7 separate regions of the Homo sapiens genome follow, and all the other regions are linked to region 2. Evidence: promoter capture Hi-C in 16 types of primary human blood cells and fetal thymus (Javierre and others, 2016). All regions are on one chromosome and are shown on one strand. The core of a region is centred on a gene start or on the middle of the fragment in contact, and the rest is flanking DNA. Distances in the headings are between cores, read along the strand shown.

What was found. Contacts are between HindIII fragments. The CHiCAGO score rates a contact against its expected background, and 5 or more counts as called.
Region 1: a fragment that was not itself captured here is called in contact with the fragment with the promoter of PLEKHG6 in region 2 in 4 of 17 cell types (neutrophils, M0 macrophages, M1 macrophages and 1 more); the score reaches 10.7 in neutrophils.
Region 3: a contact is called between a fragment that was not itself captured here and the fragment with the promoter of PLEKHG6 in region 2, in 2 of 17 cell types (M0 macrophages and neutrophils). The highest score is 6.0, in M0 macrophages.
Region 4: a contact is called between a fragment that was not itself captured here and the fragment with the promoter of PLEKHG6 in region 2, in 13 of 17 cell types (M0 macrophages, neutrophils, monocytes and 10 more). The highest score is 21.3, in M0 macrophages.
Region 5: a contact is called between a fragment that was not itself captured here and the fragment with the promoter of PLEKHG6 in region 2, in 2 of 17 cell types (M0 macrophages and megakaryocytes). The highest score is 6.4, in M0 macrophages.
Region 6: a contact is called between a fragment that was not itself captured here and the fragment with the promoter of PLEKHG6 in region 2, in 2 of 17 cell types (M0 macrophages and M1 macrophages). The highest score is 6.9, in M0 macrophages.
Region 7: a contact is called between a fragment that was not itself captured here and the fragment with the promoter of PLEKHG6 in region 2, in 8 of 17 cell types (M0 macrophages, M1 macrophages, M2 macrophages and 5 more). The highest score is 8.9, in M0 macrophages.

Annotation. Positions count from the first base shown.
Region 1 is chr12:5,999,772-6,002,471 of GRCh38, forward strand. All of the region lies in intron 34 of VWF (von Willebrand factor), which reads right to left. Among named protein-coding and RNA genes, the nearest start is that of SNORA120, 39 kb to the right of the region's middle. The HindIII fragment of the contact is 3,202 bases long and covers 1-2,700 here.
Region 2 is chr12:6,309,232-6,311,931 of GRCh38, forward strand. It overlaps PLEKHG6 (pleckstrin homology and RhoGEF domain containing G6), which reads left to right and starts at 1,451. Exons shown (of 16, transcript NM_001384598.1): 1 at 1,451-1,617. RefSeq lists an enhancer at 265-985 and a silencer at 1,348-1,397. The HindIII fragment of the contact is 5,964 bases long and covers 1-2,543 here.
Region 3 is chr12:6,017,608-6,020,307 of GRCh38, forward strand. VWF (von Willebrand factor) reads right to left here. Exons shown (of 52, transcript NM_000552.5): 28 at 758-2,136. Among named protein-coding and RNA genes, the nearest start is that of SNORA120, 21 kb to the right of the region's middle. RefSeq lists an enhancer at 942-1,441. The HindIII fragment of the contact is 2,016 bases long and covers 362-2,377 here.
Region 4 is chr12:5,983,726-5,986,425 of GRCh38, forward strand. VWF (von Willebrand factor) reads right to left here. Exons shown (of 52, transcript NM_000552.5): 39 at 1,838-1,940; 40 at 1,320-1,394. Among named protein-coding and RNA genes, the nearest start is that of ANO2, 40 kb to the left of the region's middle. The HindIII fragment of the contact is 7,184 bases long and covers 1-2,700 here.
Region 5 is chr12:5,950,281-5,952,980 of GRCh38, forward strand. VWF (von Willebrand factor) reads right to left here. Exons shown (of 52, transcript NM_000552.5): 49 at 2,111-2,239; 50 at 1,564-1,603. Among named protein-coding and RNA genes, the nearest start is that of ANO2, 6.4 kb to the left of the region's middle. The HindIII fragment of the contact is 251 bases long and covers 1,195-1,445 here.
Region 6 is chr12:5,967,039-5,969,738 of GRCh38, forward strand. It overlaps VWF (von Willebrand factor), which reads right to left. Exons shown (of 52, transcript NM_000552.5): 45 at 2,173-2,353; 46 at 1,089-1,129; 47 at 448-564. Among named protein-coding and RNA genes, the nearest start is that of ANO2, 23 kb to the left of the region's middle. RefSeq lists enhancers at 755-1,256, 2,529-2,700. The HindIII fragment of the contact is 7,621 bases long and covers 1-2,700 here.
Region 7 is chr12:6,035,641-6,038,340 of GRCh38, forward strand. VWF (von Willebrand factor) reads right to left here. Exons shown (of 52, transcript NM_000552.5): 19 at 748-851. Among named protein-coding and RNA genes, the nearest start is that of SNORA120, 3.2 kb to the right of the region's middle. The HindIII fragment of the contact is 5,048 bases long and covers 1-2,700 here.

The sequences.
Region 1 (2,700 bases), core at 190-2,689, 310 kb before region 2:
CACCTTGAATCAGAATTTCAAAAACTAAGAAGAGAAATGAACAAAGACAAGAATAAATAAAAATAGAACTCAGTGAACTTGGTGGGGGTGGGTAATAAAAGTGCAAAGTCAACTCTGAAATAAAGACTAAATTATAAGTACCCAAGGAAGATGACATCAAAATAAGAATTTAATAAAGAGCATCAGAGAAAAGCAAAAAAAAACCAATCAAGAGAATGAAAATGAGTTAATGAAGAAAGTATAAAGGTCAAAGAGACAGTAATGAAAATGTAAGACAGGAGAAAAAATGGACTCTTAAAAGAGAAAACAAAACAATGGAACAGAACTAACACTTAAAGAATATAACTCATGAAAACATTCTGGAAATCAAAAAAGAACCAAATCTATGTATGGGAGTCATGTGCCAGATGTCCGGAAAAATTAACCCAAAACAGTCAACTCTGAGACATATTACAGTACACTATTAGACTTCAAACATAAAGAAAAAATTTTCCAGGCCTTCAGGCAAAAAGATCAAATAATTTACAAGGACAAAAGAATTATATTGGTATCAGAATTTTCAAAAGCAATATACAAAGCAAGGCAACAATGGAGCAGCATTTTTCAGAAATTTAGTGAAAGAAAATGTGAATCAAGAATTCTGTATTCAGCCAAGGTGCCCTTCTAGCATCAATGCTATAGAAAAACAGTTTTAAATACATAGGAATTAATGGAATTCTGTACACATAAGCCCTTCTTAAGATATCTACTAGAGACCCAGGCGCGGTGGCTCACGCCTGGAATCCCAGAACTTTGGGAGGCCGAGGCAGGCGGATCACGAGGTCAGGTGATGGAGACCATCCCGGCTAACACGGTGAAACCCCGTCTCTACAAAAAAAAAAATACGAAAAATTAGCCAGGCGTGGTGGCGGGCGCCTGTAGTCCCAGCTACTCGGGAGGCTGAGGCAGGAGAATGGCGTGAACCTGGGAGGCGGAGCTTGCAGTGAGCCGAGATCGCGCCTCTGCACTCCAGCCTGAGCCACAGAGCGAGACTCTGTCTCAAAAAAAAAAAAAAAAAAAAAAAGAAATCTACTAGAGAACATTTCCTCCAACTAAGAGATGACTAGGAAATGTTAACAAAACAACTAAAGTGAGCATTTTTATTTATATAGTCATAGATCTAAAACTAAAACGAAGAATGGAAGACTAATGTGCAAATGTTATATGCTGTGACAGTAGAAATAATAGAACTCGACAATGGGAGGAGAGGGGAGGGAACAAGAAAAGTTAGAATAACCTCATTGATTGTTGGATAGCCACAGGTAGAAGTTAAAGAATGCTATTAAAAACTGAAAAACTGATTAATGAATGCTTAAATTTAAAAATATGGGCCTGAAGGCATTTTAGAAAGGTATAACTTCAAAGGTAATGACAGGAACAAAAGCATAAACCTTCCTAGACACCTTAACGTATCACCACATTTATAAATGAAAAATATATAACAAACAATTATAAAATATAATGACGAAAGAAGATCAAACACAAGATGGCAATAAATGAGAATGGGCTTAACTTGTCTACTAAAACAAAAAGGTTTTCAATTCGGCTCAAAGGCAAGACCCAACTATTGCTATATAACTAAAATTCAGAAAGGCTAAAGTAAAGGGACAGACAAAGGATATCAAACAATAAGAAAACAGGGATGGAGATTTTGATATCAGACAAAGTAAAATTCTAGCCAAAAAAAAGATTAAATGTGACTAATAAGAGCATTCTGAACAGTATAATTCACAATGAAGCCATAACAGCTGTGAATATCTATGCACCAGACAACATCTTCATAGAGCAAAAACTATAGGAGAAGCAAGGAGACATTGGTAGACAAACTAATAACAGGATACTTTTAGACATCCCTTTCAGAACCAGATAGATAAAATGGGGAAAAGGTAAGTAAGACTATAGAAGACAAACATTAAAATCAAAATATGTAGTTCTCATGGAGGGGTGACAGGAAGAGAGCGAGGGATCTCATACTCTACACCCTGATAATAGAGAATACACCTTCACAAAAACTGATCATGTATTAGATCACGAAGAAAATAACGGTAACTTCCACAAAGTAGAACTATTACAGATACTCTCGTCAGAGTATAGTAAAATTAAAAATTTTTTAATTATTGTTTAAAAAGATCTTTACACTTGGAAATTTTTTTAATTTATGATATAAATCCTGGGTGAAAGGGACAATAAAAACAGATAGTACAGAATTTCTTTAGAAAATAATGATAATAAATACACTACATATCAGACTCATTGGGATACATATAAAGTGATCCTAGGAAAATTCATAACAGTAAACATTTCTGTCAATAAAAATAAAACAATGAAAATGAATGAAATTCCCAGTTCCAATTAAATAGAAAAGCACAAAAGGTAAACTAAAAGAAAATTCAAGGAAAGAAGTCATAAAATAGCAAGGATAAAAGCAGAAATCCATAAAGTAGAGAATATAAAAACAGTAAACATAATAAATAAATTGAAATCTTGATTTTTAAAAAAATCCAGAAAGACAAATCATGAGTTAATTTGATCAAGAAAAAAGATAATAAACATGTATATAAATTAACAAATGACAAAAGAAAATCGCTATTTAAAAAGAATTTTTGATATTATAAAAGATTACTGTGAAAATTTTACTTGTACCCTAGAGTATATACAAAC
Region 2 (2,700 bases), core at 201-2,700:
AGGAGATTCTGCTTCTGAAAGTGTTTCCTGAACTTCAGGATGCTCTGAAGAAGTAAGGAGCCGTATCAATCACTGTTGAGTTCATTGGCAGGAAATAGACCACAGTCAGGGTGAGGGGCTGGGAGCCTCAGACCTGCCACCTGCCAACTACAGGGTCTTGGGTTTCATGGTTGTGAGATTATAATGACCACACATCCACAGGACACTTCTATCTCAAATATCCAGTGCTTCTGTCAGACGAGGTGCCATGATTTGGAGAAGTGAAAAGGTGGGGAAACCGAAGCAGGAGGATCGCTTGAACCCAGGAGTTGGAGTCCATCCTGGGCCACACAGCAAGATATTGTCTCTATTTTCTTTTTAAAAAATAAATTTTAAAAATAAAGAAAATAAAGTATGGTCCTTTCATGCAATGCCCAGCATGTGTCAGTCCTTCCACAGCATCTTTTTCTTTTTCTTTCTTTTTTTTTTTTTTTTTTTTTGAGATGGAGTTTCACTCTGTTGCCCAGGCTGGAGTGCAGTAGTGCTGTCTTGGCTCACTGCAACCTCCACCTCCCAGGTTCAAGCGATTCTCCCGCCTCAGCCTCCCAAGTAGCTGGGACTACAGGCGCCCGTCACCATGCCCAGCTAATTTTTGTATTTTTAGTAGAGTCGGGGTTTCACCATATTGGCCAGGCTGGTCTCCATCTCCCGACCTTGTGATCCGCCCGCCTCGGCCTCCCAAAGTGTTGGGATTACAGGCGTGAGCCATCGCGCCTGGCCCCACAGCATCTATTTTAGCAGCCACCGCAAGGGCTGGGTGACCCTGGTGTAGCCGGGAGTGGGCTTATTTGCAGGTGAACTGGGAGGGTGCCCCCACCTGAGTCTTAGGTCATAGGAGAAGTGCGGGTCAGGCCTCAGCTGCCTATCCCTGGAGCAAAGGCAAAGTCCAGGATAGCCTTCCAGTATCACCTTCCACCAGGCAGGCCAGCCGGTCCTCTGAGAGATAAGGCTCACACTTTGGACTCCACACAGCGACGGGGCCCCCTGCCCCTCCAGCTGGCAGGCGGGCTCCCTGCCTGCTTAGGGGTCTAGGCCGAGGCAGGGGGAGGACCGGACGGCCGGCCACTCGCCGCGACCAGCAGGAGAGAGGGGTGCCTGCCACAGGTTGTCACCCTCGCCGCCTCCCCCGGCGGCGCCCCGCCCCTTACTCAGCCCTCATTACTGCAGCGCCTCGCGGGGGTCTGGCCCGGAGTGGAGGGCGCGCGGTCCCAGCCCTCCCGCTCGGCCGGCGGGTGTCGAGTTCAGGTGCGACCGAAAAGGGGAAAGGAGGGCACCGCCACGTGAGCTGTCCTCTCCGGGGAAGGCGGTGGCTGCGTGAGGGCGGGGGCTGCTCGGTCCCCAGGGCCCCGCCCCTCTGCCCCTCTGCCCCGAGCGGTGCTGGCGGTAGGGAGGGGCCAGCCCGGTCCCCGCCCTCCTCGCCCGGACCCGCGCTGCCCGGCTCCCGCGGGCCGCTCGATCCCAGTCCCAGGCTGGGCATCGGGGCTGGCTGGCATCGCCGGGGAGCCGACGGCGACGGGGAGCCCCGCGGGCGGGGAGGGCGGCGCAGGGCAGCGGGTGCGGTGACACCTGTGGGCACAGGTGAGCGGCGGGAGGGCTACGCGGCCCGGGGGCGGGGCGGCCGGGACCCGGGGCCTGGAAGCCGGGGCGAAGGGGAAGGAAGGCCTGGCCTCCCGAAGGCGGGAGGAGGGGAGCCGGGGGCTGGGCTGAGACAGGACCCTGGGTAGGGAGCAGTGCGAGGGAGACAGCGCCCTCAGAGGGAGGACTATTGGGAGGCGGCAGGAGGGACAGCGAACGTTTCCTCCTCTGCTCCTGAATCGGAGGAAGGTAAGGGAGGGCTGAGGCAGGACCTCAGGCCCACCCGGTCGGGGCACAAACACCTGCGCAGCCTTCTTGAGCCCACCGCCCCTTAGGAGGCCTCTCCTCTTCCAGGCCCTGCCCACTCGAGGGCGGGCCCTCCCTCCAGGTTTAGGGGGGAGGGATGGAGCCCCACGCCTGGCCCCCAGCTCCATGGTGGTATTCCCAGAGTCTGGGGAGGACCAAATATATAGCCCGAAACTGGAGAAACTCTAATTCTATTTGGCTGGTCTCTAAGGGCAGTGGCCGGACAGCTGGCCCCACTCACCTCCCTGTCTGTGGTCAGGAGGGTTCAGGTAGGAGATGGGCAAGCCTTTCAGTAAAGGCCAGACAGTAAAGATTAGAGACTTCGCGGCCTACACCGTCTGTCCCAACTAGCAAGAAGCAGTCACAGGTTATTAGGAGACCAGCAGAAGAGGATGGATTCCAACAAAACTGTGTTTATGGACACTGAATTTGAATATCATGTAATATTTACTTGTCCCAAAATATTGGTGGCTTTTTTGCAGGGGGGGCAGCAGTTGTTTCAACTATGTAAATATGTAAAGGCTTACAGGCTGTACAAAAACTGGTGGCAGACTGGGCTGTCTCCAGCCACCCCCACTCCCAGCCCACCCCACCCACCATGGCCTCCCTCCAGCTTTTTCCCAAGCTTTATATGGGGAAGGGGATGGGGTTATATCTAGGTGCAAGGAGAACCCTCCCACCTGGGTGTATCCAGAAAGCCCGAGACCTGTCTGTGACCCTTGTTCCCATTTGAGACCAGTGCAGGAGCTTGTACCCCAAATATGCACACATGTGAGAGAG
Region 3 (2,700 bases), core at 120-2,619, 290 kb before region 2:
GTGGGAGCAAGCATTTTTTTTTGAGCACTTGTCATGTGCCAGATACTATTTTAAGCAAGTAGGTGCTATTATTATCCCCATTTTATAGATGAGGATACACAAAGATGTGTATCCTTTGTATAGATGATATACAAAGAGGTTAAGTATTTGCCTCATCCTTTGTATAGACGATATACAAAGAGGTTAAGTATTTGCCCAAAATTACCCAGCTAGCAAGTAGCAGAGATAAGATTCAAACTAAGGCAGTCTGACTCCAGTGTCTGAAGACTGCACCTGCTACCTGACACCTGACATCCTGGTCTTGCCCTGAAGAATGTCAGCTACTCGGAATAATTTCACCCACCCAGTGTGGTCAAAATGAAGCTTATCATCACCACCTTTAACAGAGGTTACCTTGAAGGCAGAGGGTGGAATTGGGTGGGGAAGAGGCTGTGTGATAAAGTAAGACTTGCATTTTTTTTTTTTTTTTACTCCTTATTGGCATTGTTTAAATGTTAACAATAGGCTTCCATTACCTTTGAATTTATAGAAGCACACACAATAAGAAAAGATCTTCCCCCGAAAAAGGATCACAGTTTGTCTCCCTGCCAGGGAGGTGAGGAAACACAGGCCCTTTGAAGGCAAGTTTCAACCAAGGCCACACAGACCAGGGAAGCCAGGATTAGAACCCGAGTCGTATCTTGGCAGATGCATGTAGCACCAAGGCCATGCCAGCCCTCGCCCAGCCCTCCCACCTGCACACAAGGTGCCAGCATACCAGGTGCAGGGGAGAGGGTGGGGATCTGCAGCCCCTCTCCGGAGCAGCACCTCTGCAGCACCAGGTCAGGAGCCTCTCGGGGGAGCGTCTCAAAGTCCTGGATGAGGATAGGGGCATTGGGCCAGCCAATCCTCTCCAGCTCCTGCACGTTGGCATTAGGGCCCACTCCAATGGGCACCACCTGGATGTCTCCAGGCAGCCTCTTGATCTCATCAGAGGCAGGATTTCCGGTGACCATGTAGACCAGGTTGGGCGCCTGCTCCCGGTCACCCTGGCTGACCAAGAAGCTGTGGTCAGAGAGGTACCGCAGGGCCAGCCCAGTGTTGGTCCTGTTGCCGCCCTGGTAGCGGATCTCTCGCACCCGCTGCAGGATGTCCCCTTTGGACTGTGCCTCGCTGAAGGGGTACTCCACAGTCACCATGTAGGAGTACTGCAGCACCGTGACGTGGATGCTGTCCTGGCCCACATCCATCCGCTGAATCACCTCCTCCATGAACTCCTTGCTCCTGTTGAAGTCGGCTTCACCAATTTTGTCCGATCCTTCCAGGACGAACGCCACATCCAGAACCATGGAGTTCCTCTTGGGCCCCAGGGTCGAAACCCCCAAGAGCCCCGGGCCCACAGTGACTTGTGCCATGTCGGGGGGCAGAGTAGGAGGAGGGGCTTCAGGGGCAAGGTCACAGAGGTAGCTAACGATCTCGTCCCTTTGCTGCTCCAGCTCATCCACACTGCTCAGCACGAAGGCCTTGTTCTCAGGGGCCTGCTTCTCGATGAGGCGGATCTGCTTGAGGTTGGCATGGGGCCCAATGCCCACCGGGATCACAATGACCTTCTTCTTCTTCAGGCCCTGGACGTAGCGGACAAAGTTCCGGGACATCCGTTGGGGCTCCTGGCTGGCCATCAGGAGCAGGGTGATGCGGGAGGCTTCAGGGCGGTCGATCTTGCTGAAGATTTGGAACAGTGTGTATTTCAAGACCTCGCTGGTGGAGGCCACCTGGCTGCCCGCATACTTCACCTGGCTGGCAATGCGCCGCAGCTCTGACGGTCGCTTCCGGTCCTTGAGCCCGATGTAGGCGTGGGAGCCGTCGTGGTACTCCACCACGGCCACGCGGACCCACTTCTGGGAGATGCGCAGCCGCTCCATCATGTCCACCACAAAGGCCTTCAGCACTTCAAACTCAGCCTCGGACAGCCTGGAGGAGCCATCCAGCAGGAAGACCAGGTCCAGTAGCCTGCTGCAGTAGAAATCGTGCAACGGCGGTTCCGAGATGTCCTCCACATACAGAGTGGTGGGGCTCACCGGGGCATCTGTGGGAGGCACCACCAGGCCTCCCGGCTCCTGGCAGGCTTCACAGGTGAGGTTGACAACATCACAGTGGCTGCAGAAAAGAGCGAAGAAATTAAAATGGTTCAGGAAGAACCTGTGGACACTTCTGAGCCCTACAGTGTACAATGACTTCCATATTCCCACAGAATCTCCTCTGTTCCACCTGAACTTGAGATCCCATGGACCATTCCACATCCAAGTGAGATGTCATTGTTTAACATCTGTCCCCAAATAGCATGCCCCCCACCTTCAAAACACACACATAGCCGACTTCCTTTGATTCTAGAAACCAAAGCTTTAGCCCATCCTAGGATATGAAAAAATATACTCGTTGTTCTAGGCCATCCACACAACCACTCAAAGCTGATTTCTTTTCAACCTACATCTTTAGCAACATGAATACTTAATTATAATCCAAGCCTTCTTACAAGTGTCTCCAAGAACAAATGTTACTAAAATGTAGACGCTAACCTGTGTTTGTACATGTTCTGTTGAAGATAAATGCTTTACAGTACATATTCTAACAGAATGTAAATTGCATGAGTTTTAAAACATGTTTGATATGTTGGGCCCTAACGAAGAGAGAAAAAATTGGAGCAAAAACATTGTAGAAAGA
Region 4 (2,700 bases), core at 56-2,555, 330 kb before region 2:
CAGGTTAGATAGATTAGACAGACAGATAGATACATACATAGATATAGGATAGATAACTAGATACAATAGAGATAGATAGATAGATAGATAGATGATAGAGGATAGATGATAAATAGATATATAGCTTAGATAGAGATAGGATAGATGATAGATACATAGGATAGATAGAGACAGGATAGATGATAAATAGATACATAGGTTAGATAGAGATAGGACAGATGATAAATACATAGGATGGATGGATAGATGGATAGATAGATAGATAGATAGATAGATAGATAGATAGATAGATAGACAGACAGACAGACAGACAGATAGATCAATCCAAGTCACATACTGATTATTCTTATCATCCACTAGGGCTTTCACATCTCAGCCAAGTCAACTTGGATCCTCTAGACCTGTTTCTTCTTCTGGAAGGTGGGAACTCTACCTTATAGGATCAGTCTGAGGAGTTCACAAAATAATAAGGGCAAAGTGCCCGGCACATTGTAGGAGACTAGTAATGTCTATAAAATGAGGGGCTTGAAGTAAATGATCCCTCTAGTTCTCTCTACTGCTAACATTCTAAGACCTCCTTTACATTAATTGTTCTCAAGCCACATCTCCCTCCCCTACAGGACTTCTATTTATTTCTGATCAATTTCATGAGTACAAATAAGTTTCTCCGATTATATGATTTTCTTTTAGTTCCTTGGACTGTCCCCTGATCTATCTGCTCTCCCTTCAATATCTGCATCACTGCAAATTGTACAAGCCTGTGCTTTAGGTCTTCATCTGTACAAGCAATAAACACACTGGACAGGACTGGGACAAAGGCACTAATGATTTCCTGCCATGCTAACCGTAATTCCATCAGCTCTGAATTCACGGACTTATACCATTATTCAGCCCACTATTCACAGAGCAGCCTGCAAGGCTAGCATGAAAACCTCTAGCAAACAACCTGCTGAACTCAAGGTGCCCAGTGTGTGGTCTTCTCTATATCTAGCAGCCTCAAAATCTTATTGAAAATGAAAATGGGTTGCTTTGGCATGACCTTTTCTTCAGTATATCTCCATAGTCCCCAGTAATCACCCCATTCTTGTATTAATCCTGTCAAACCTGTGTTTAGTAATTTACAGTAGATTCTTCTAGGAAGCAAATCCTATTCTCCAGAGGTAACCCTTTCCACTTTTTTGGAGTATCCAGTCGGTCCTTACCCACCTCCTTTCACACACCCTGTGCCTGAGAACAGAGACACCTTTCAGCACCTTCAACGTGGTGCCCCCTGGGGCTAGGGTTGGGCCCTGGAGACATCCCCCTGGTGGGACACATACCACACTCATACTCGGGGCAGCACTGGTCTGCATTCTGGCGGAGGCGGGCTACTTCACACAGGCCACACGTGGGAGCTAGAGGAGAGGAACGGCCACAAAAGTCAGAGAAATTAGTGGTGGGACAGCCTCAGAGGGATTTGAAATGTTCTTGCTCACTGAAAACTAGTAGGAGTTCTGTACGGTCATCCCACAAGGATCCAGGCCACGGGACCTCTGACAGATGAGTGTCCCCATGTTCCTGTTGACACCCTCACATTTACCCTCCAGGGGACTCTTAAGTCTGACCGTTGCTGGGGACCAGAGGCGAGGGTTAATCTGAGAATGTCGACCCCAGGTGCAGAATGGGGCTCCCAGGCCCAGTGATGGGAAATGCAGGCTGGGCAAGGAAGCCCACCCACTCTAGGACTCTAGGTGCCAGTGTTTGAGTCTGCTCTGCCAGAGGTGAAGATGGGTGGCTGGGGGGCCTTGCAGGGGCCCTTGTTCCTCCATGAAGGCACCAGGGAGGGGAGGACTCTCACCTTTGGCCGTGGGGCAGGGCTGCGTTGTGCAGTTGACCTTCCGCCCGCTGAGGCATGTGCAGATCTGACAGGGCTGGTGGTCCGGGACCCAGGCTTCCAGGAACTGAGGGCAAAGCGAGGTTCAGAAAGGGCACAGGACATTCTAGGTACGAAGCCCAGAATTCACAGAGGTCAGCTCTCCCTGCCTCCGGCAAGGGCCAGTCCCTGACCCAGCCCTCTGACAGAGCCTCACAGGCAAACAAAAGCAGGCTGAAAGGAGGTTGTGAGGTTCTAATGGCTTTCAGAAAGGTGGTTGCCACATTGCTTTGTAAACTAACATGCGGAAATTTTCACTACAGCCTTCTCTGTTGGCAGTGCTAAAACCAAGCAAAGAAAGAAAAATGAGAGTTCTTGGATCGCACTGCTAGTCATTTCTCAAGCCAAAGGAGAAATTGGGTTGTTGCTTGGGGAAAAAAATCCATTTATTTCTGAAATTGACTTCAGACAATAGGGTAGGAAGAGCGGTGGGGAGGACAGCAAAACTCTTGAAAGCATCACATTCTTGATGCCCGCAGTGACTTTAGAGGCCTGAGTGCAGTTCTCTGATTTTTCAAATGGGAGACGGCCCAGGGCAGAGAGCAGCCTTCTCGAAGGTACACACAGCCCCACAGCACAAGGCTTTGAAGTCAGGAACTCCTGAACTCTAACAAAGGCTGCATTCCGCTGTGCCTCAGTTTCCTCACCTGTAAAATGAGCGTACTCAAGCCTGCCTTGCAGGACTGTTGTAAGGAGTGAGAAACTGTGATTAGCACAGGGTACACAGCAAAGAGCTCCACTAATAAGAAGCAGAGCCAGGACTCAGTCTCCCTCTGGATTCAGCCATA
Region 5 (2,700 bases), core at 70-2,569, 360 kb before region 2:
ATCTCTTCATTCCTGCCTTGGGGTAAGAGGAAAGGCGAAGTCATGGTGATGTAAGGGCATACCCTGCCTCTCTGGGGACCGAGAAGATCCCTAGGCACCTTTGTGAAGGCCTCTCTTCGGGTACTGCTGACTCCAGGTTGCTGACATGGGGGTTTCCTTTCACACAGGGGTTAGTGGCATTCAGATCTGAATCTCTACTTGGCCCACTGGGAATTCAAAAATTTAATCCCAGCTCACCATTCCAGTCTGAACACTGGGAGTTTTCTGTCCTTAGATGGCTCGAAATCTAAATCAACCCTAACTACATATTAGTCTGCCTCCTAATTTCTAGATAATTTCATTGTAAAGGGAAAGCCTGCCAATTACATTAAGAGGATGAATTAAAAAAAAAAAACATTTAGACCAGCATACTATACTATGTTGCTGTGGATTTAAGGCCCTGAGCCTGGCTTATTGTCCTTATTAAAGATCTCGAAGCCTCTTGAATGAGTTGACCAACAAAGACCCTTTGTGGTGGTTTTGTAGGTAACAGTCTCCTAATCAAATTCCACGTGCAGTGTGCCTAGAGAGAATTCTTCTTCTCTGATGGTTTCCTGACTTCACATTCTTAAACCATTCAAATGGGAATCATAGAAAGACATGCTTTCAGAGTGCTTCCTCGATCTGAGATTTGGTTACAGCAATTGCAGGGGCTGTCAAGAATGAATGATTGAACACTGAAAGTATTCATGTTTTCACTCTTCCTTTCTCTATCTGTAAACAAGCATGGACCTGTGAACCCAGGGCAGAAAAGAAATACCCTAATCTAAAACAAAAAATCTTAGTCCAGGCAAGTAATTCTATATTCAGAAATTATGGCATTAGCATTGGGATCCTGAAAGTTATTTGTGCTCACAAACACAAGCATGTATGGGAAGAACACTGTCTGATGTGCAGATTTGTGTCTCGTCTCCAAAGCTGCTGCTGTGAGCAATGAGAACCAATCAGTAGGACATAACTACGAGGTAAAGAGGAGCTCAGAGTGAAGAAGAGGGGGTGATAAACTTAGACCAGCCCCCACAGCACATGTGGGCTGTTGTCAGCCAGCTGGTGGCTTCGCTTTCTCTTTGAGATAGCTTTAGCACACTCATGAATAGATATGTGTTGAGAGTCTACTCTGTCAGGATCATAGATCCAAGGTGCCTGTCTTCAAGAAGCTTTGGTTAGAGAGGGAACATATCGTCCCAGGATAGGACTATGAGCAATCAAAGATCCTATGAGGGAAAAGGCACATAAGAAGCTGGAGACAGGAGGGAGTTTGCAGGAAAAGGGGAAAGAGATTGCTCCATGGGATCTAAAAGGGAGTTCAAGAGGGCAGTCTGATGACATCCAAGGAGGGGAGGCTGCTCCCTGCAAGACTGAACATAATGACTGACCAGTGGTCACGAAATATCTTTCTGAAATAAAGCTTACTCCAAAGAACAGTCATGCGGCTTGCTAATGGGTTTCAAGGAGCAAGCTGCAAAGAGCCCCTGGACTTGCTCTGATGGGTTTCAAGGGACAAGATATTAGTAACGCACTCACATGTGTCACAGCAGGTGCCTGGAATTTTCATAATTTTACCCTAAGAAAACAGCAAAATTTCAGGTTAGGCACAAACAGTACAGAGTAGACAGCTTTCAGGTCACTCCGGGCCAATTTTTAGCTCCGAACTCACAGCCCTGTGCTTAAGTGCCCAGATGTAAACTATGCTTTCCTATCATAAATGTGAGCAGCTTGACCACCCTACCTGACCAGGCTGAAACAATTTTGATGATTCTGAATTCTCTTCCAGTTGAGTCATCAGGATCTTCATTCCCAGGGAGACTAAAAATCAGTTTGATCTCACATTTTATTCAAGAATCACACACTCAGCCTCCCTTAAGGAAAATATTTTTTTAAAACATCCTATATTGCAGAGAATTTTATCTCTCCGTAGGCTTTGATTTCGTAATCTCACTGATTCTTCAACTAGGCCAGAGATGTGCCTCAGACACTGAGAAATTATGCCGGAGCTGGGATGCACACTATTCAGAAGAATCTTGTTCTTAGAGATTGAGACAGTAAAGAGGAAAGCAGAATGAGTACTCACTCCCTCAGCCAGACACTTGTGTTCATCAAAGGGTGGGCAGCCTGTGACCCTCTTCTCCCAGAAGTACTCTCCTCTCTCATTGACCTTGCAGAAGTGAGTATCACAGCCATCCTGGAGCGTCTCATCACGCTGGAAGGAAAGAGGAGTGGGTAAAGTCAGAGACAGTGTTTGGTTCACAAAGCCACTTCAAACCATGAGCTTGACTCCATGGAGATGACGAAACAATCTGCAGAACCATGAAACAAGAAGACAGTGTATAATAAAGCCCCCACACCCAGAACACAGACCAGAAGTGGAGTCCCAGTTTTACAGCTTGTATCCTATGAACAGGGCTGCTATGTAGACTCTTCCGACCAGTTAAATGCTTGAAGGATTGAGATATAGCAACAGTAAACTGGCTAGCTGATAACTGAACTAGAGATGAACGAAGGGAACTACCTCCCAGCCCCACCAGCTAGTCCGGACTTCATAGACCAGAGTTTGTTTCACGCTGATGGCCTGTCCAGTCTTACAGACGCCCAAGGGTAGAGAAAATCTTAAAGATCAACCACCTCCAGGCCAGGCACGGTGGCTCACACCTGTAATCCCAG
Region 6 (2,700 bases), core at 166-2,665, 340 kb before region 2:
TCCAAATGTCCCGCAATAATAGCTTGGTTGTATACACGAGGCACATCCATTCAAAGGAATGTTGTGTAGAGCCTTGCACATAGGAGGTGTCTGATAAATATTTGTTGACTAATTTTTAATATTTTCAAAGAACGGTGGTGCTGTTTCTTAAAATACATAAAGGGATACAGAATTGTAAACATAGTATCATAAGCCTGGCAAATACTGTGTTTATTCTGAAAACTCAGGAAGAAAATGTTTGCAACTTATAAAACTAAAATTATAATTATTTCTGAGGCATGCAGTTTGGGTGGGTGATTTTTAGTCTCTTCTTTATTATTGTCAATTATTGTTTATAATCAGAAAATAATGAGAGATTTATTTATTTAAAGACCGCAGTGAGGTCCCACTGCCTGGGTCCCACACGCGTCCAGTCCATGCCCTCGGTCCCCATTGAGCCTCTCTTACCAGGGGGCAGGGGTTGCAGGTGGTCTTCCTGCACTCCAGCTTGAATCCAGAGATGACCCCCACCTGCACCATGCAGCGGCAGGTCGTGCACACATCGATCATCACAGTCTTCCCGGGCTGGAAGCAGAGGCACCAGGGTCAGGCCCCCCAGCATCCCCCAACCCCCCACTCACCTCACTCTCATACCCTGTCTCCTGCCCACCCACCCATAGCTCCCATGAGCCATCGCTCTGCTGCTCCTCCTGTCTCCTATGGCCCACTGCCTTCCCGTCCTCCCACCTCCAGTATCAAGATGGTAAGAGTGAGAACTTTCATGCCAAAGAGGCAGCCCAGGTAGTGGCAGAGGGGACAAACTAAAACGTGCACAATGACTTCAGAGTGCTTCTCTGCACACAGAAGAAATGCACAGGTGCCTGAGGTGGGGGCCAGGAAGTGAGTGTGAGACAGGCCCGGAGAGTCAGGAAGATGGTCCTAGCCTGGGCTCCATGATGCCAGGCACGTCCCACAGGCAGTGGAAAGCTGGGGTTGGGTCTCTCTGGTTTCCTTCATTTCTGCTTTACAATGACTTGCCTGCTCCCCTTCCCACAGTACCCCCTTCCCTGTCCCCACCACTTGCTCTGGAGAAGAGGACAGCGGCTCACCCCAATGACAGTGCCATTGAGCATGCAGGCCTCCATGCGCTCTGGGGGAGAGAAAAGTGCAGAGTGAGAGTGGGCAAAACACACCCTGGTGAGACCGGCGAGCAGGCTGCTCTCTTTGGGGCTCCTCCTCCGTGTCTGGGCCTCCCTCCTGTATCGGTCGGCCCTTTCCCCCCACCCCACAACCCAGCGCTGGGGGTCCTACTGCTGGAGCCCACAGCGGCCTCCCTTCCCCATGCAGCCCACAATGAGAAGAGCCCCGTACGTTCTCCAAGTGACAGCGCTTGCTTATGTGAATTTACATTTAAGAGATGGGATGAATGGGAGGATGTTTGGGTTTATGAAACAATGAAACGCTACTCTTGAAAATTTCAGTTTCAAGAATTCAGTGGCCAGGCACAGTGGCTCATGCCTGTAATCCCAGCACTCTGGGAGGCCGAGGTGGGCAGATCACTTGAGGTCAGGAGTTCAAGACCAGCCCAGCCAACATAGCAAAACCACATCTCTACTAGAAATACAAAAATTAGCCGAGTGTGGTGGCGCACGCCTGTAATCCCAGCTACTTGGAGGCTGAGGCAGGAAAAGTGCTTGAACCCAGGAGGCCAAGGTTGCAGTGAGCCAAAATAGTGCCACTGCACTCTAGCCTATCCAGAGATAGCGCCAGTCACTCCAGAGTGAGAATCTGCCTCAAACAAACAAACAAACAAATAAATAAAATTCAGAGCAGGATATGGTAGAAAGAACTAGTTTTTGTTGTTGTTGCCATTTTTCTGTTTGTTGGCAGCGTTGGGGTGGCAAGTTGAACGCCTTCCCCTGGGTGAAACGTCACAGCATTTCAAAGGTGGTCTCCAAATCAGAGAAGCCTAGGGCCGAATCCCAGTCTTGCCATGTAGTGATCTTCAGGAAATTCCTATGGTTTTCCCATTTAATTTGCTTTCTCATAAAAGCAGTAGGAGCAGATGGGAAGATTTCGGTCCTATCCATTTCCCTAAGTTGCTAAAAAGGCAAAGAATTCAGGAGCCAAAAGTGGAAAGAGAGGCTTAAAGGTGGTGCCCGGTCCAGCCCAGCCCCAGCCTGCATGCCTTACCACAGCGACAGCTTGGGCAGCACGCTGAGGTCTTACAGCTCAGCTGAAAGCCCGAGGGGCAGACAGGGACCTCCAGCTGGGGGCAGGAGACGTTCCTTTGTTGTATAAAGACCTCCTCCTTCACTCGGACACACTCATTGATGAGGCAGGGGTTCTCCGGGGAGGCCCACTGGGAGCCGACCTGCAGGGCACCAGAGTTAGTCCAACAAGCTGGGGCAGGGCTGGAGCCCAGGGTCCCATTGGGAATGTGCTCTTCTCTCAGGAAGGTGGTTTCTAGACGTGAAGCCTGGCTTAACATGTAAGTCCCACCACAGGGTAGGGCCCACGGAGGGGATGAGTGGGGCTCGTCTCAGTGAGCACCACTCAAACAGTTTGGGTCAAAATCACCTGACTGAGGCACCCAGGCAAGCACCTTGGAGAAGCCAGGGGACTCACCCTCCCTTCCTCAGCATTGGTTTGAGCTGAGCTCAGATACTCCGGCCAAGAAGCAGCACTGTGGGCCATCAGTGGGAAGGTGCAGCCGGGAAG
Region 7 (2,700 bases), core at 87-2,586, 270 kb before region 2:
AGCACACTCACGAAGTGCTCATGGGCAGTGTAAGGCCTGCAACGAAAGGACCCTCCAGACCCCGTGCCCACTGGCAGCTTGGCCCAAATGCAATGACTGGTGGGGCGAGGTCCCTGTCTTCCCTGGGGCCCATCTCCCTGAACAGAAATACAAGCTGAGCATTCCTAATCCAAAACTCTGAAGTCCAAAATGTTCTGAAACCCAAAACTTTGAGCACCAACATGACACCACATGGGTGGCTGAGAGGGTGACACCTTTACTTTCTGATGGTTCAATGTACACAAAACTTTGTTTCATGCACAAACATTAAAAATACTAAATACACATTAAATACATATTTAAAATGTTGTATAAACTTACCCTCAGGCAACGTGTATAAGGTATATATGAACCATAAATAAATGTCATGTTTAGATTTAGGTCCCATCCCTAAGACACCTCATTATGTATATGCAAATATTTCAAAGTCCAAAATAATCCAAAATCCAAAACAGTTGTGGTCCCAAGCATTTCGGATAAGGGCTACTGTACTAACCTGTTGAATAGTGTCTATGCAGGATGGACACAGGTGATGAAAAAGATTCTCCCCATTTTACAGATGGAGAAACACAGGCACGGAGGAAAGGCAGAGAGTAACCAGGTTCCCACAGGGGGCTGGAGGCAAGTGCGGAAGGTCCTGTGGCCGCGTGCACCCTCACTCCACCCGCAGGGCCTGGGTCCCCGGCGCAGCCCCTCACTGAGCCTCACCAAGTGTTGCAGCCAATCTTCACTGTTTCTCCAGGGGCATACTCCTTGCCCTGATGGAAGCAGGGACACCTTTCCAGGGCCACACATCTGTTCTCATGCCGGACCTAAGAGAAAAGAATCCAAAAGTCCTCAGGGCCACAGTGACTGATCTAAAGCCCTCCTCCAGCCCGCTCCAGGAAGTGTTGTCTGAGACTTGAGCCTACGGGTAAGCCCAGCACTGGGACTGGCACCAGGACCAGGGCTGAGCCAGGGGGACAGCTTCCACTGCAGGCCAAGCCAGGACAGGGATCCTATGCCCAGGCCAGGGCTTGGCAAACATGGGTTCCCATCTACATGGCTCCTCCCTGTCAACTAAAGACACTGACTGCCCTCTGCCCTCTCGTGCCCTGCTGGGGCACTGTAACCTGGACATTTTTGCAAAGGTACTTCAAAAAATCATGTCCAGAGGCCTTGAAATGCACATATTCTTACACCTAGCCATCCCAAGGAAAGGATTTCTCTGAGGGAAATAGAATTATGGACAAAGATTGATGGAGAATTATTTATCATTGCAAAAAAAAATTGGAAACACTTAATAGGAAAATGACTAAATCCATTGAGGAATCACCAGGCGCCAGTATCCTATGGTGCTATTACAATGGTCCTTTGGAAGAATCTTAAATGAAGTGAGAAATACTTATGCTGTTAATTTTTAACACAGGAAGAAAAACTGTATATACATATGGTTCCAAATGTATATATATTTCACAAAAGACTAGAAGGAAATACAGAATCTGCCTCCAGGTGGTGAGCTGGGATAGGCGAGTGGGAGGATTTTATTTTCTTTTTCAGTTTTAAAATTTTTTTCCAAGTGTTCTTCAATGAGCATGTATTATGTTTATAATTAAAGAAAATGAACACTATATTGAATAAAATTAATATGTACTTAACACTCTGGAGGTGAGGGCCAAATATTGGGCATAAGTAGAAATCGATCAGAACTAGAGTCTGGGGGCTGGTCCAAGCCACAGGCCCCCTCCTGCCCAGTCTCCCGTATCCCGGTTCACTCTCCATGGGGTATGCTCTACTTCCCCGTCGTCACCCCTCGGGAAACTACTTTCGTGAGCATGTTGTATTCCTCCGGTCTGTTGGGGCTGAGAAAATAAAAGAACTAAGAACTACCAGCCCCAGAAGAGTCAGCCAAACCCACTCTGAGCTCAACATGCAGACACGCTTCTGTCCCGACTCCAAGGGGCAGCCCTGGGTGCCTGTCCTGGTGTGGCCTAGCCTTGGGGGTTCTCAAAGAGGCCTGGGTCACCCCCAGGTGAAGGACTGTGGCACCTTGGCTCCAGAGCTCCCTGCAGGGCGAGAAGCTCCTGGTCTGAACAGTTCCAGCTCCACGTGACCCAGTCACTCCCCAGACAAGTCTGAGCTCCCAGGCCTGGAGCTGGACAAATCCCTGGGAACAGGGCAATCTTGGGCTGAACAAAGGGCTTTCAAGGACCCAGGCTAGAATCGTATGTGAGCATGTGTGTGTTGGGGCGGTTGGGGGGAGGGAAATAGGAAGAATCCTCCACTGCTTAATGTCATCTTCACCCAACCTCAGGAGGTGTTCCCGCATCTCTGGAAGCCCAGCTGATGGGTCAGGATGACAGTGCAGGGCATAAGATGCAGGTTGACCCCACTCTTGGTAGCTCTTACCTCCCGGAACCACTGTTCTTGGGAGGGAATGAGCTTAAGCACCCAGTAGGGAAGATGGCACCTTGGTAGGAGCTGGCAGGGCTGAAAAACCTCTCTCTAGCAGAGCATTCAAAGCCTCTGTCACAATTAGGGTTCATGTCCACATCGCCCCGTCCAGTGTCAGCTCTGACTTAAGCCTGAGGCCCACCACCTAGTGGCTGCTATAAGAATGACTGAGGTATCCCACGGATGCCTTACAGTCAACGGAAACCAGATAATACGCCTCCTTGTGGC